3 separate regions of the Homo sapiens genome follow, and all the other regions are linked to region 3. Evidence: promoter capture Hi-C in human tissues and cell types (Jung and others, 2019). All regions are on one chromosome and are shown on one strand. The core of a region is centred on a gene start or on the middle of the fragment in contact, and the rest is flanking DNA. Distances in the headings are between cores, read along the strand shown.

Evidence for each region. Contacts are between HindIII fragments. The study calls those that stand out against the background at their distance.
Region 1: a contact is called between a fragment that was not itself captured here and the fragment with the promoter of ZNF592 in region 3, in 2 of the 25 tissues and cell types used here (mesenchymal stem cells and spleen).
Region 2: a fragment that was not itself captured here is called in contact with the fragment with the promoter of ZNF592 in region 3 in 2 of the 25 tissues and cell types used here (spleen and thymus).

Annotation. Positions count from the first base shown.
Region 1 is chr15:84,861,439-84,865,292 of GRCh38, reverse strand. ALPK3 (alpha kinase 3) reads right to left here. Exons shown (of 14, transcript NM_020778.5): 10 at 2,378-2,658; 11 at 1,653-1,741; 12 at 628-851. Among named protein-coding and RNA genes, the nearest start is that of SLC28A1, 21 kb to the left of the region's middle. RefSeq lists enhancers at 1,104-1,603, 1,604-2,105, 2,674-3,175. The HindIII fragment of the contact is 9,691 bases long and covers 1-3,854 here.
Region 2 is chr15:84,841,898-84,845,444 of GRCh38, reverse strand. The region is part of intron 5 of ALPK3 (alpha kinase 3); the gene reads right to left. Among named protein-coding and RNA genes, the nearest start is that of ALPK3, 26 kb to the right of the region's middle. The HindIII fragment of the contact is 3,856 bases long and covers 1-3,506 here.
Region 3 is chr15:84,746,119-84,749,938 of GRCh38, reverse strand. ZNF592 (zinc finger protein 592) reads right to left here and starts at 1,347. Exons shown (of 11, transcript NM_014630.3): 1 at 1,275-1,347. RefSeq lists enhancers at 376-455, 984-1,823, 1,896-2,195 and silencers at 856-1,345, 1,406-1,825. The HindIII fragment of the contact is 21,328 bases long and covers 1-3,820 here.

The DNA.
Region 1 (3,854 bases), core at 1,287-3,786, 110 kb before region 3:
TTTCTCTGTTCCTCTCCTCTGTCCAGTTCTGCTTAATGACAGTAGGCCTGCAGAGAGCTGGTTGAAGAAGGAAGGAGGGTTCATGCCTGCTGGCCTTCCTTTGTTGGGGAGTTCTGGGTAATGGGGGGCGTAGGAATAAAACTAAAAAGAAGCTAGACTAAGTTGCTTTACATAACGAAAAGCTAACAAAGATGGAGGAGGAGGAGAGACAGTAAAGCTACTGGGCTAAAATGGAAGGGAGAGTTTGGGAAGCTTGGAGAGTGAGAAAGTCTAGAGCAAAGCTGCAGGGAAGGGAAGAAGGGAGGTTTTTGAAAAGGGTGGTTGTGGGTTTTGAATTAGACCCCATGTAATGGTCTTTGAAATAAATTCCTTTTTACTTTTAATTGAGCCTGGACTGTGCTCCTTTAAATGCAGCTGCAGTGATAGACTGGGCTACATGAGGTATGTATTAGGGTTGCGAGCAAAATGTTCCGTGTCCAATCTACTTTACAAGATTATTGTGAAAAGCAAAAAAGAATAAAGACAAAGGTGCTTTGTAAACGATCAGCCAAGCACTATGGCTTTGCCTCCTCTGCATGCTTTCACATCCATGCACATGCGTACCCGTGCACCCTCACACCCTCGTACCTGCCAAGTCTGTGACAAGGAAGCTGCCATTTGTCCACTGATACAGCCAGTGTTGGAAGGTCTGGCATTTCTGCATGGCCTCAGAGCTGCCAGATGCTGTCGGAGCCTCAGCACAGCCCCATTCCCGAGAACAGTAAGACTCCAGGGGCTTGCCCAGGTCTTCCTCCAGGGTAGCATATGGGATATTGTTTGCAGGCCGGTAGATCAGATACAGTGGGATGATCCTAAACATAGTTTCACCCTGCAGTAAGCAGGAAGTATGGCCCAGAGAGCTCCTCCCTCCCACCCAATTCTGTATTCTTGGACCTAAAAGAAGGGCCCTTCCAAGAATGTAATTCTCAGCTCCGAGCCCAAAGGACAGCAAAGGAAAGCAGCTCCACCCTGAGTTTGGGAAAGGAAATGGATATTTTTGGCTTCAGAGTCCTGTCCATTCTCTTGGTCAGTGGGATTAGAACCAAACCCTGCTATGGGCATAGGCAGACTGTGTGGCTTGGGTGAGGGATTGAGGCATGTATGTGTCAAACAGAAGGAGCACCTTTAGAGAGGATTCAACCAGATTGTGGCTCTCTGCCAGTGGGACCCCAGGTATGCAAAGGTCAGAGTTCAAGTCTCAAAATGCAAACAATTGCCATTTATAGCTGACTCCTACAAAAATCCACACTGACCCTGCCTGCATACCACGGAAGTGTCCTGATCAGTCTGCCTAGCTTAACCCACCCCATCACCTTCATGGAGTCCCAGAAATTGCTGTGTCCAAACTCTGCAATCAGCAACATCTGCACTAAAGAATGAGGAACCGGGGTGGGCGGGACTCAAGTCCAGAGCAGAGGCTTTTCTCAAGTGGAGAGTAAATGAGGTCTCTATTTCTACATTTTGTGAGGCCACTGAGCTGAGCATGGGGCTGTGAGCCTATTTGCACATGGGCATAACGCAGGATGCCCCTGGGAGGCTGTGAAATCACTGTCTTTGCAGAAGCCCAAGGCAACAGTGCTGCACACTGCACGTCCTCCTCGCTGCGTACTTACTCAGGCACCTCCCCAAAGCCAGGCGCGGCCCGGGCTTCTGCTGCGAAGATTTTGCAGTACTCCCGACTCATGTTCTGGATCTTGCACCCCTGTGGATGAGGGAACCAAATGTGGTGAGCAAAGAAATTCCTCAGTCCTCCACTGTGTCTACCCCTAAGTGAGTGGGCTACCTATTCTGTTAGGGGACTGAGAGGAGGATTCCAGCCCTGGGGGAGGAAGGGCTTACTCCTCCCTGCTCCCCACTCTGCATCTCATTTTCCTCTTTTGTATAACAAGCGGCTTTGGACTTCTTTTCAAACTGAGGTTTTCGAAGTGATTTCTGAACTATTTTTGGGAGTCCTTATGGTATGTGACAGTGTCCCAGAGACCACTCTGTGTAGAGCCAGGAAGACTGCCCACCCCACCCACAGCACCCCCCTTTTATCTCACATATAAACAAGGCTTCCATGAGAGATTATGTATGGGGCAGGGGGAAGGTTTCTGCTGCAAACATAGAGTTTGAAAACTATGGCCCAAGTCGTTTTGAAGCTCTCAAGCTCTCTGAGGCCAAGCATCTGAATTCTGGGCTGCATCTCAGGCTTTCCACAAGGTCCTCCTAGGAGCCTCATAAGGTTGAGACTGAGATGCCTTCTGCCTCGATACTGGGCATCCTAACAGGACCTGGGCTGGGAAAGGGGAGGGGGTGAGAGAATAAAAGAATGGGGTGTGAAGATGGGACATAGTACCTGGATGGTGACGTCGTAGTTTCTGCCCACAAGAGAAGTCTCACTGCTGGGCCCAAACACAAGCAGGCTGGACACCTTGATGATGCACGTGCGGCCCGACTCGAAGATGGGTTCCAGCCCGTAGATGACCTTGGCCTGGGAGGCCTTCCGAAGGCCACACCCATATCCACCCCCTCGGAGCTCCTCGCTTACCAGTCGCCCAAAGAGCTTGTCCCCCCAGCAGCCAGAGTCAGCCAGACCCTTAGCAAACACCATAGGGGTCATCTCAATCTCTTCTCCAACTGAAGGGGAACAGGAGAAATGTGGGAGACCAGGAGCTCCTGTCTCACCAATGTGGGGCTCACAGGGAAGGAAAAGGCCAGAAGAGCCTCCCACCCTGCCAACCTGCTGGGCTCACTTTCCGTCCACGCCTGCTCTTTGGGCACATTAAGTCCCCACCAGACTATGAGCTCCTTGGGGCAGAAACTCTATTTGATTCAACCCCTGCCATCTAGCGGTACCCATGTGGTATCCATCACATAACCCCTGCCTTCCACAAATGCGTCCTAAGCACTGTCCAAACACAGTGCTCAGGATGTGTTTGTGGAAGGCAGGGGTTTTCTGTGGCAACAATAATCAATACAGAATACCAGAATTACTTTGTTTTGGAATTCGTTGTTTTGATCAGATGAATACATGACTCCATTTCAACCAACACGTTTGACTGAAACAAAAAGTTTGCAGGACCAATCCAGCAGCAATGAGCACCCCTAATGCTCAAATTGTGACCGCTAAATATAATTTCCCATTAAAGGGAAACCAGAGCTTTCTAAAGAAATGGTTGATTCCAGGTCTAGGCAGAAAGTGTACAGCAAGGACCTGAAATATCGTGTGAATCCAGAAAGCAAGAGAGCTAGCAAAAGCTATTAGAGACTTGGCAGAAGGACACAGGGGCCAACCTGAAGGGGCTCCCTTGGGCCAAAAAGGAAACAATCTTGGCAACAAAAATAATTACTGCAACATATTGAACATATCAAATATGTTAAAAATCCATGTATTCATAGTTGCAACAACAAAAAAAAGAATCCAATCTCCTCCCTCAAAAAATAAACCTCACTGGTCACCTATGGAAAACGGTAGGGTAGGGCACCAACTCGTTATTCTAAATTCTAGTAACTAAAGGGAAAAGAGCAAGTATTTATCCTTCATTTCCTGTTGGAACTTAACGTATTGGGATAACCAAATAATCATCCCTTTTTTACAGAAAAAAATCAGCTAATGAATGAAGAAGAAAAGACCAAATTAAACTATCTCCATGTTGCAACTGCTAATGAAATAATAGATTTAGGCAATAATCAGTGACTGCCAAAACCCCTAGATAACAATAGGGTTTGTATCAGATTGTTTTTAACTTTAAAAGGGGATGGATCACACAGATGCACCTGAATGAACCCAGTGACCAACCTTAACATTACTAAAAGTGAAACAATCTGACAGT
Region 2 (3,547 bases), core at 329-2,828, 95 kb before region 3:
CACATTGTTTCACACATGAGCCTGTGATCTGGACCAAGGAAGAGACCCAGGAGAAAAAAAAAGGAACAGGGACTTGTCCCACTCTTAGGATCACAGCTCCTCTGAATAGAGGGGAAGATTCTCTTCTCTCAAAGTTTTAGGCACCTGTGGCCTCTGTTGCTACCACTGTCACTGCCAAGAAATCTCTTTTCCATTCCTGAAGGCTGATCTAGAGGGCTTCTGGAACTCTCTCTGCCCAAGTTAATGTTTACATCTGGGTTTCAAACAGCATTAAGACCAGGCCAGGAAATGCCAGAAGGGAAAAAAAAAAAAAGTAAACACCGTAGGTTCAGTGGTACTTTGAGTTCTGGTCTTCATCCCCAATCTGTCTGCGACTATTTGCTTTTCAAAGTTGTCAAGTAGGTGTATTATACATTTTGCCTAAATTTTAGGCTGCATTCAGTGGGAGATACAGAATCAAGTGTATTTACTCCATCTTATCCAGAAATAAAACTGCCATAACCAGAATAAATAATATTAGTTATTGTATTTTTCAGCTCTGGAATTCTAGTTGGTTCATTTTCAAGTCTTTTCCACCTTTTTTTTTTTGAGACGGAGTCTCGCTCTGTTGCCCAGGCTGGAGCGCGGTGGCGTGATCCTAGCTCACTGCAACCTCCACCTCTCGGGTTCAAGCGATTCTCCTGCCTCAGCCTACTGAGTAGCTGGGATTACAGATGTGCATCACCACACCCAGCTAAGTTTTGTATTTTTAGTAGAGATGGGGTTTCACCATGTTGGCCAGGCTAGTCTCGAACTCCTGACCTCAGGTGATCCATCTGCCTCAGCCTCCCAAAGTGCTGGGATTACAGGCGTGAACCACTGCGCTCGGCCTTTTCCACTTTTTATAGTTTCTAGGTATTTGGTGAAATTTGCAATCTTGTCTTCTTATCTCCTTCGATATATGAAGGAGGTAAACTAATTTTAATTTTATAATTCATGTCTAATAATTCCAAAAGTTGGAAACCTGTGGGCCAATTTCTTTCTTTTCTTTTGTTTTTTGAGACAGAATCTCACTCTGTCACCGAGGCTGGAGTGCAGTAGCACAATCTCAGTTCACTGCAACCTCTGCTTCCCAGGTTTAAGTGATTCTCGTGCCTCAGCCTCCCAAGTAGTTGAAATTACAGGCATGCACCACCACACCTGGCTAATTTTTGTTTTTTGTTTTTTTGGGTTTTTTTGAGATGGAGCCTCACTCTGTCACCCAGGCTGGAGTGCAGTGGTGCAATCTCAGCTCACCACAACCTCCGCCTCCCAGGTTCAAGCAATTATCTGCCTCAGCCTCCCGAATAGCTGGGATTACAGGCATCCGCCACCACGCCCAGGTAATTTTTGTATTGTTAGTAGAGACAGGGTTTCACCATCTTGGCCACGCTGGTCTTGAACTCCTGAGCTTGTTATCCACCCACCTTAGCTTCCCAAAGTGCTGGGATTACAGGCATGAGCCACCATGCCTGGCCTAATTCTTATATTTTTAGTAGAGACAGGGTTTCACCACATTGGCCAGGCTGGTCTTGAACTCCTGGCTTCAAGTGATCTGCCCACCTCAGCCTCCTAAAGTACTGCGATTACAAGCGTGAGCCACTGTGCCCGGCAACCTGTGGGCCAATTTCTATCTTCTGTGGACTTATCTTCATTTCATGCTGAATATTATATTTGAAATACTTTTTAAAAATAATTTCAGGCTTAAGATGATGCTGTCATCCTCCAGATATGATTTTTGTTTGCTTCTGCCAGGTGCCTGAGGGCACTAGGTATCTTGAACCACCTAATTCTAATTTCAGGGATTGAGATATTTCTTAGTTATCCATGTAACTTGGAGCTCGTCAGTAACTCAATACCGTGAGACTAATTTACTTGATTCCCCTTTCTCCTAGGGTACAAACCTTCAGAGTCCCAACCCAAAACCCAGGGGGCTTACAAGGGCTCCCACTCTTGAGACCATGGGCTCTAATTTTTGTCTCCTTAGTCTCATGAGACTATCTAAACTATTGCTCACTGCAACCTCCACCTCCCAGGTTCTAGCAATTCTCCTGCCTCAGCCACCCAAGTGGTCAGAATTACAGGCACGTGCCACCACACCCGGCTAATTTTTTGTATTTTTAGTAAAGATGGGGTTTCACCATGTTGGCCAAGCTGGTCTCAAACTCCTAACCTCAAGTGAGCCACCTGCTTCGGCCTTCCAAAGTGCTGGGATTACAGGCATGAGCCACTGTACCCAGCCTAACCATGAGGTTTTTGTTGGAGCAGTGGAACCAACACAGACAACTTCTCAGGTACCACACTGCCTGAGCCCCTCCTCCTACCTTTGGGAGGCAAGGAAGAGGGGGCTGGTACTTCCTCCTCTGGCCCTACCAGGAGGATGCCACCATCTGGTATTGGGTTCCTCACCATTTAGGCAGAGAAGCCAGATTTGCACACTCACTTGGCCACCAGCCTGGTCCCTTCCTAAATGAGCTATGAGGGCCTATGAGAGCCATCTCTTCCAAAAGTCCCTGCTGTCCAGCCTGTGGGCTGTCAGGCATGTGCAGCAGCCCCACAAAGCCTTCCCCGGGCCACTGTGAACTTACCATTCCAGTGGCCAAAACTACAGGAGACCAGGCATGAGGGGGACAAGAGTCAGGAACAGGTTCCAGAAAGTCTGGTTTTAGGTCCTTGAGGTTTGTTCCACTCCAAAGCCCTCTGAACTACTGTTCCTACAGTCTAACCTTAGCACCCATGAAATAAAACCATTTCCCATGGTCACCCTTAAAACTAGTCTTTCCCTCCTTCCCACCATGAAAGTTCTCTCCATGGGAAAGCCCCTCCTGTTCTCCACAAAGCATCCTTTCCCCTTTGCCCTCTGCCAGGTGCTGTATCAGCTTGTCCCTCATGTGCTTCCCTTCACTGCTCCGAGAAACCACCTGTCCTCTGTCCCTACCCCTGGGAAACACTGCTTTCCTCCTGTTCCCCCATGAAGCCATTCCCGATCTATAACTGCTTCCTCTATCCTAAGAAACAGTCTCATCTTAGTTCTCACCAAAACCAGAGGATGTCTCCACTTAAGGTTATCAGATTTAGCAAAAAGAAATACTGGGCTGGGCACGGCGGCTCACGCCTGTAATCCCAACATTTTGGGAGGCTGAGGTGGACAGATCACTTGAGGTCAAGAGTTCAAGATCAGCCTGGTCAACACAGCAAAACCCTGTCTCTACTAAAAATACAAAAATTAGCTGAGCATGGTGCCTCACACCTGTAATTCCAACTACTTTGGAGGCTGAGACACAAGAACTGCTTGAACCCGGGAGCCGGAGGCTGCAGTGAGCTGAGATCGCACCACTGTACTGCACTCCAGCCTGGGCAACTCCATCTCAAAAAACAAACAAACAAATAAACAAACCAAAGAAAGAAAGAAATACCGACACCCAGTTAAATTGGGACTTCAAATAAATAACCAGTATTTGTCTCAGTGTAAATATGTTCTATCTATTTTATCCACCCCAGCCCCACTCTTGAAATACTTTTCCTTCTG
Region 3 (3,820 bases), core at 98-2,597:
CCTAGCTCAGTGCCTGGCACAGAGTAAGTGCTCAGTAAAAATTTATTTAATGAATCAAAGCCACAACTAGTTGAAAAATTGGAAAATGATCAAAATGGACGCACTAGCACCACACTTCTGCCCCTTTCACTGTGTAACGTAACAGTGAGGTTGAGGAAACAGACTACTAAAATACCACCAAGCATCCACCAGGCCAGGAATCTGTCTGTCCACATCCTCCGCACTCTGCCACACTGTGCACCACACTGCACCCGCGACAGAAGCACCCTACAGGCCCTCCATGAGCACAGGCCTGAACTCAAGTGGGCAAACCATAAGCCAAATACCGTCTTACTCCCCAAGTCCCATTCTTCTACTGCCAGTCCTATTCTAGACTAGTCCTGGATGCCAAACATGCTTCCCTGGGTGGGCCTGTGGACTTATTCCAATCCAGGACCTTTAATGCCACCTTTGGCCTACTCAAAAAATGGTTTAAAATCCCTAAACAGCTTCAATAATCCTGCAGTACTCAGGAGCAGGCATACCTAAGGTCATACGGACCCCTCCCCCTCACAAACGCTGATCCAAGGCCAGGAGGCCATCTGTCCAGCAGACGCTCTCCTGTCCTCCCTCAGGTCACACTGAGCCTCCCGCCAACCCCCTCGTTGGCAGGAAGAGCCCTTGCAGAGAGACAATTTTCACCCTGATCAACAGGCCTGGTCACCCCTGAGGACCCCAACTCTGGAGCTCTAGGAATACCTGTCTGCTCCGGGAGAAACCTTCCTCAGGGTCAGAACTTGGGCTCAGGGGAGGGGAGTACTGAGGAGCGCCAAAGAGGGTCGTTCCCCGAAGTGTCTGCCCTGTGACGGCGACAGCTCTTCGGGCGGCGGGGACGGTCGGGCTGACAGGCCGTCCCAGAGGGAGAAAGTGGCACCGTTATCCGTGCCCGGGCTGGGGGCCGCCGGCTATCGCCGAGGGCGGCCGCACGTCCCGCCCAGCGCGGAGGACAGCAGCGTGCCCGGCCTGCCAAGGAGCGGCGGTCGCAGCGGCGGTCGCAGCGGCGGAAGGGGCCGGCGCCCGACGGCCGGGGGCGGGGTGGGGTGGCGGCCCGGGCCCGCCAGGCGGCGGTCGGGGGAAGTGGCTGCCGCCTCTGGCGGCGGCCAGGGTCCGCCAGGCTGCAGGGCCGGGCCCCGGCTCGGGCTCGGACTCGGTCCCGGCTGCGATCCTCCCGGGCCCAGGCTGGGGCTGCCCCGGCCCGCAGGCCCCGCTCGGCCCGGCCCGCGGGGGGCGCTTACCTGGCGGCGGCGGCGGCGACTGCAGGCCAGAGTCTCGGCCGCGCGCGTCCCCAGCGCCGGCTGCGGGAGCCACAACATGGCGACGGCGATGGCGGGCGGGGCTGCGGCTCCGGGGGCGGAGCGGGGGCGGGAGCCGGCCTGGCGGCGGGACCTGGCTGGGGCTGCCGCGGCGGGGGATTGGGGGGGGGGGGGGGCAGGCGGAAGGCGACTCGGACCTGGGCACCGGCCCAGGACGGTGCGGTGGAGGGGCTGCCCCGGCCTGGGCCCGGCCTCCCGCCTCCCGCCTCCCGCCCGAGGCGGGCTGCGCGGCGCAGGCCCGGCGACGGCGACGACGGCGGCGGCGGGTAGGGCGGGGCGGGACGCGACGGGACGGGGCGGGGCGGGGACGGCGCCGCTCAGGGCTGGACCCCCGACCCCGGCCGGCCCCCGCCCGGCTCCAGTCCCCGCCACCCGTGCTAGGCACCCTGTGCGGTCGGGCAGGCAGCCGCTGCCAGCGACCTGGGCCTCTTGTCCTCTGACGCGCCTCGGGGCAGGGGCAGGGGCCGAGGCCGCCCACTAGAGGAACAGGATCTGCCTACGCAGCTGTCTCGCCCGGCAAAGAGCGCCCAGGACCCGGGACTGCGTCCTCTTCACTGAGACCTGGCGCATAGGGGGCCTAGTCGAGGCTGTTAAGTGAAAGCAAGCAGGGGTGGCGTGGGCCTGGCGCTCAGGTGCGCCCTAAATGTTTGGTCATAGCTGGCTACAAGGACATTCGCGCAGGCTTGGAGGTGCGGGGCAGCCTGACGTGTTGCCTCTGGGGTAACCGAGGGACGCGCGGCAAACAGAGATGGAGGACTGGCAACGGGTGCCTCGAAGAGGTAGACTGGGAGATCTCTCAGGGTTACTGGGGAAACGATGACTGTGCAGGGTGAGAACTCAGTGAGTCTGGCAGAAGGCTGGGAGGGTGACCGGCAGGACCTTCCAAGAACCCGGCGTACCTGGAAACTGGGTCCGCAGCATTAGGGCGGCAGCAAGGTCAGGGTGTGGGAACACGGAGATGAGGCCCTGGTGACTAGGAGTGAGCACACACTGCTAACCATGGAGAAATTCCTTCTCCAGGAAGGAGATGCAAATGTGCAAGATGGCTGGAACTAACATGCAGCCGGAGCCTGCTGTGCACCAGGCACAGAACTGAGTTGAAGAGCTTGTCTAAAGAGTATGTTAGCCAATGAAGCAATGGAGTTAATAAAGGGTGATGATTTCAAATGTTTGGCAGTGAGAGAGAGAAAAGTAGGCCTGGAGCTCAAGAAGTACCAAGAGTAAAGGAGAAAGTTGGGTCCTACTGTGGAAGCTGAGGCAAAAGCATCCCTTAAGCCGAGAAGTTTGAGTTCAGCCTGGGCAACATAGCGAGACCCTCCCTCTCTGCAAAAGAGTAAAGGGAAAAGTTGATTGTTTTTTGTTTTTTTTTTTTGTCTTTGGAGACGGAGTTTCGGTCTCGCAGCCCAGGCTGTAGTGCAATTGCGTGGTCTCGGCTCACTGCAACCTCTACCTCCAGAGTTCCAGTGATAATCCAGCCTCAGCCTTCAAAGTAGCTGGAATTACAGGCGCACGCCACCATGCCTGGCTTTTTTTTTTTTTTTTTTTTTTTTTTTTTTTGAGAGAGAGTTTCGCTCTTGTTGCCCAGGCTGCAGTGCAATGGCACAATCTCGGCTCACTGCAACCTCTGCCTCCTGGGTTCAACCGATTCTCCTGCCTCAGCCTCCCGAGTAGCTGGGATTACAGGCATGCGCCACCATGCCTGACTAATTTTGTATTTTTAGTGGAAATGGGGTTTCAACATGTTGGTCAGGCTGGTCTCAAACTCCTGAACTCAGGTCATCCACCCGCCTCGGCCTCCGAAAGTGCTGGGATTACATGCATGAGCCACCGCACCCGGCCCTAATTTTTGTATTTTTAGTAGAGATGGGGGTTCGCCATGTTGGCCAGGCTGGTCTCGAACTCCTGACCTAAGGTGATCCACCTGCCTTAGCCTCCCAAAGTGTTGGAATTACAGGCATGAGCCACCATGCCTGGCCGGTGATTTTTTTTTTTTTTTTCCTAACTTGAGTGGGGAGACCTTAACTAAAGGAGCTGAGAGGGGAGAATGGCAGATAGATGTAGGATAATTGATGGTGCAAGAAACCAGAAAAGGAAAAGTAGATGGGAAGGGGGAAAGGGGTGAGCAAAAAGTCAGAGAAGTCCGCCTCTTCCTACAAGATTTAAAGAGTGCATAAAGATTGAAATATTTTGAGGTAGGGAGGCATGCATGCTTCCATGGATCAGCTGCCTGGATTACCCTCTACAATCATCCTTAGGGCAGCTGGGGTCACTGTCCTTTAAAATTTAAGTACAATTGACTCCAAACCTGTGTACCACTTAAGAAACCCAGCATACCTGCCAATATCTCCAGAGTTTCATTGGGAACTTACATTTCTCCTAATTATCTCAGGCCCTAATTTCTTGTTTGCAAAAAATATTGTGCTCTTTGGAAGATTTGTCACCATATCCCAGATATTAGTCCATTTATA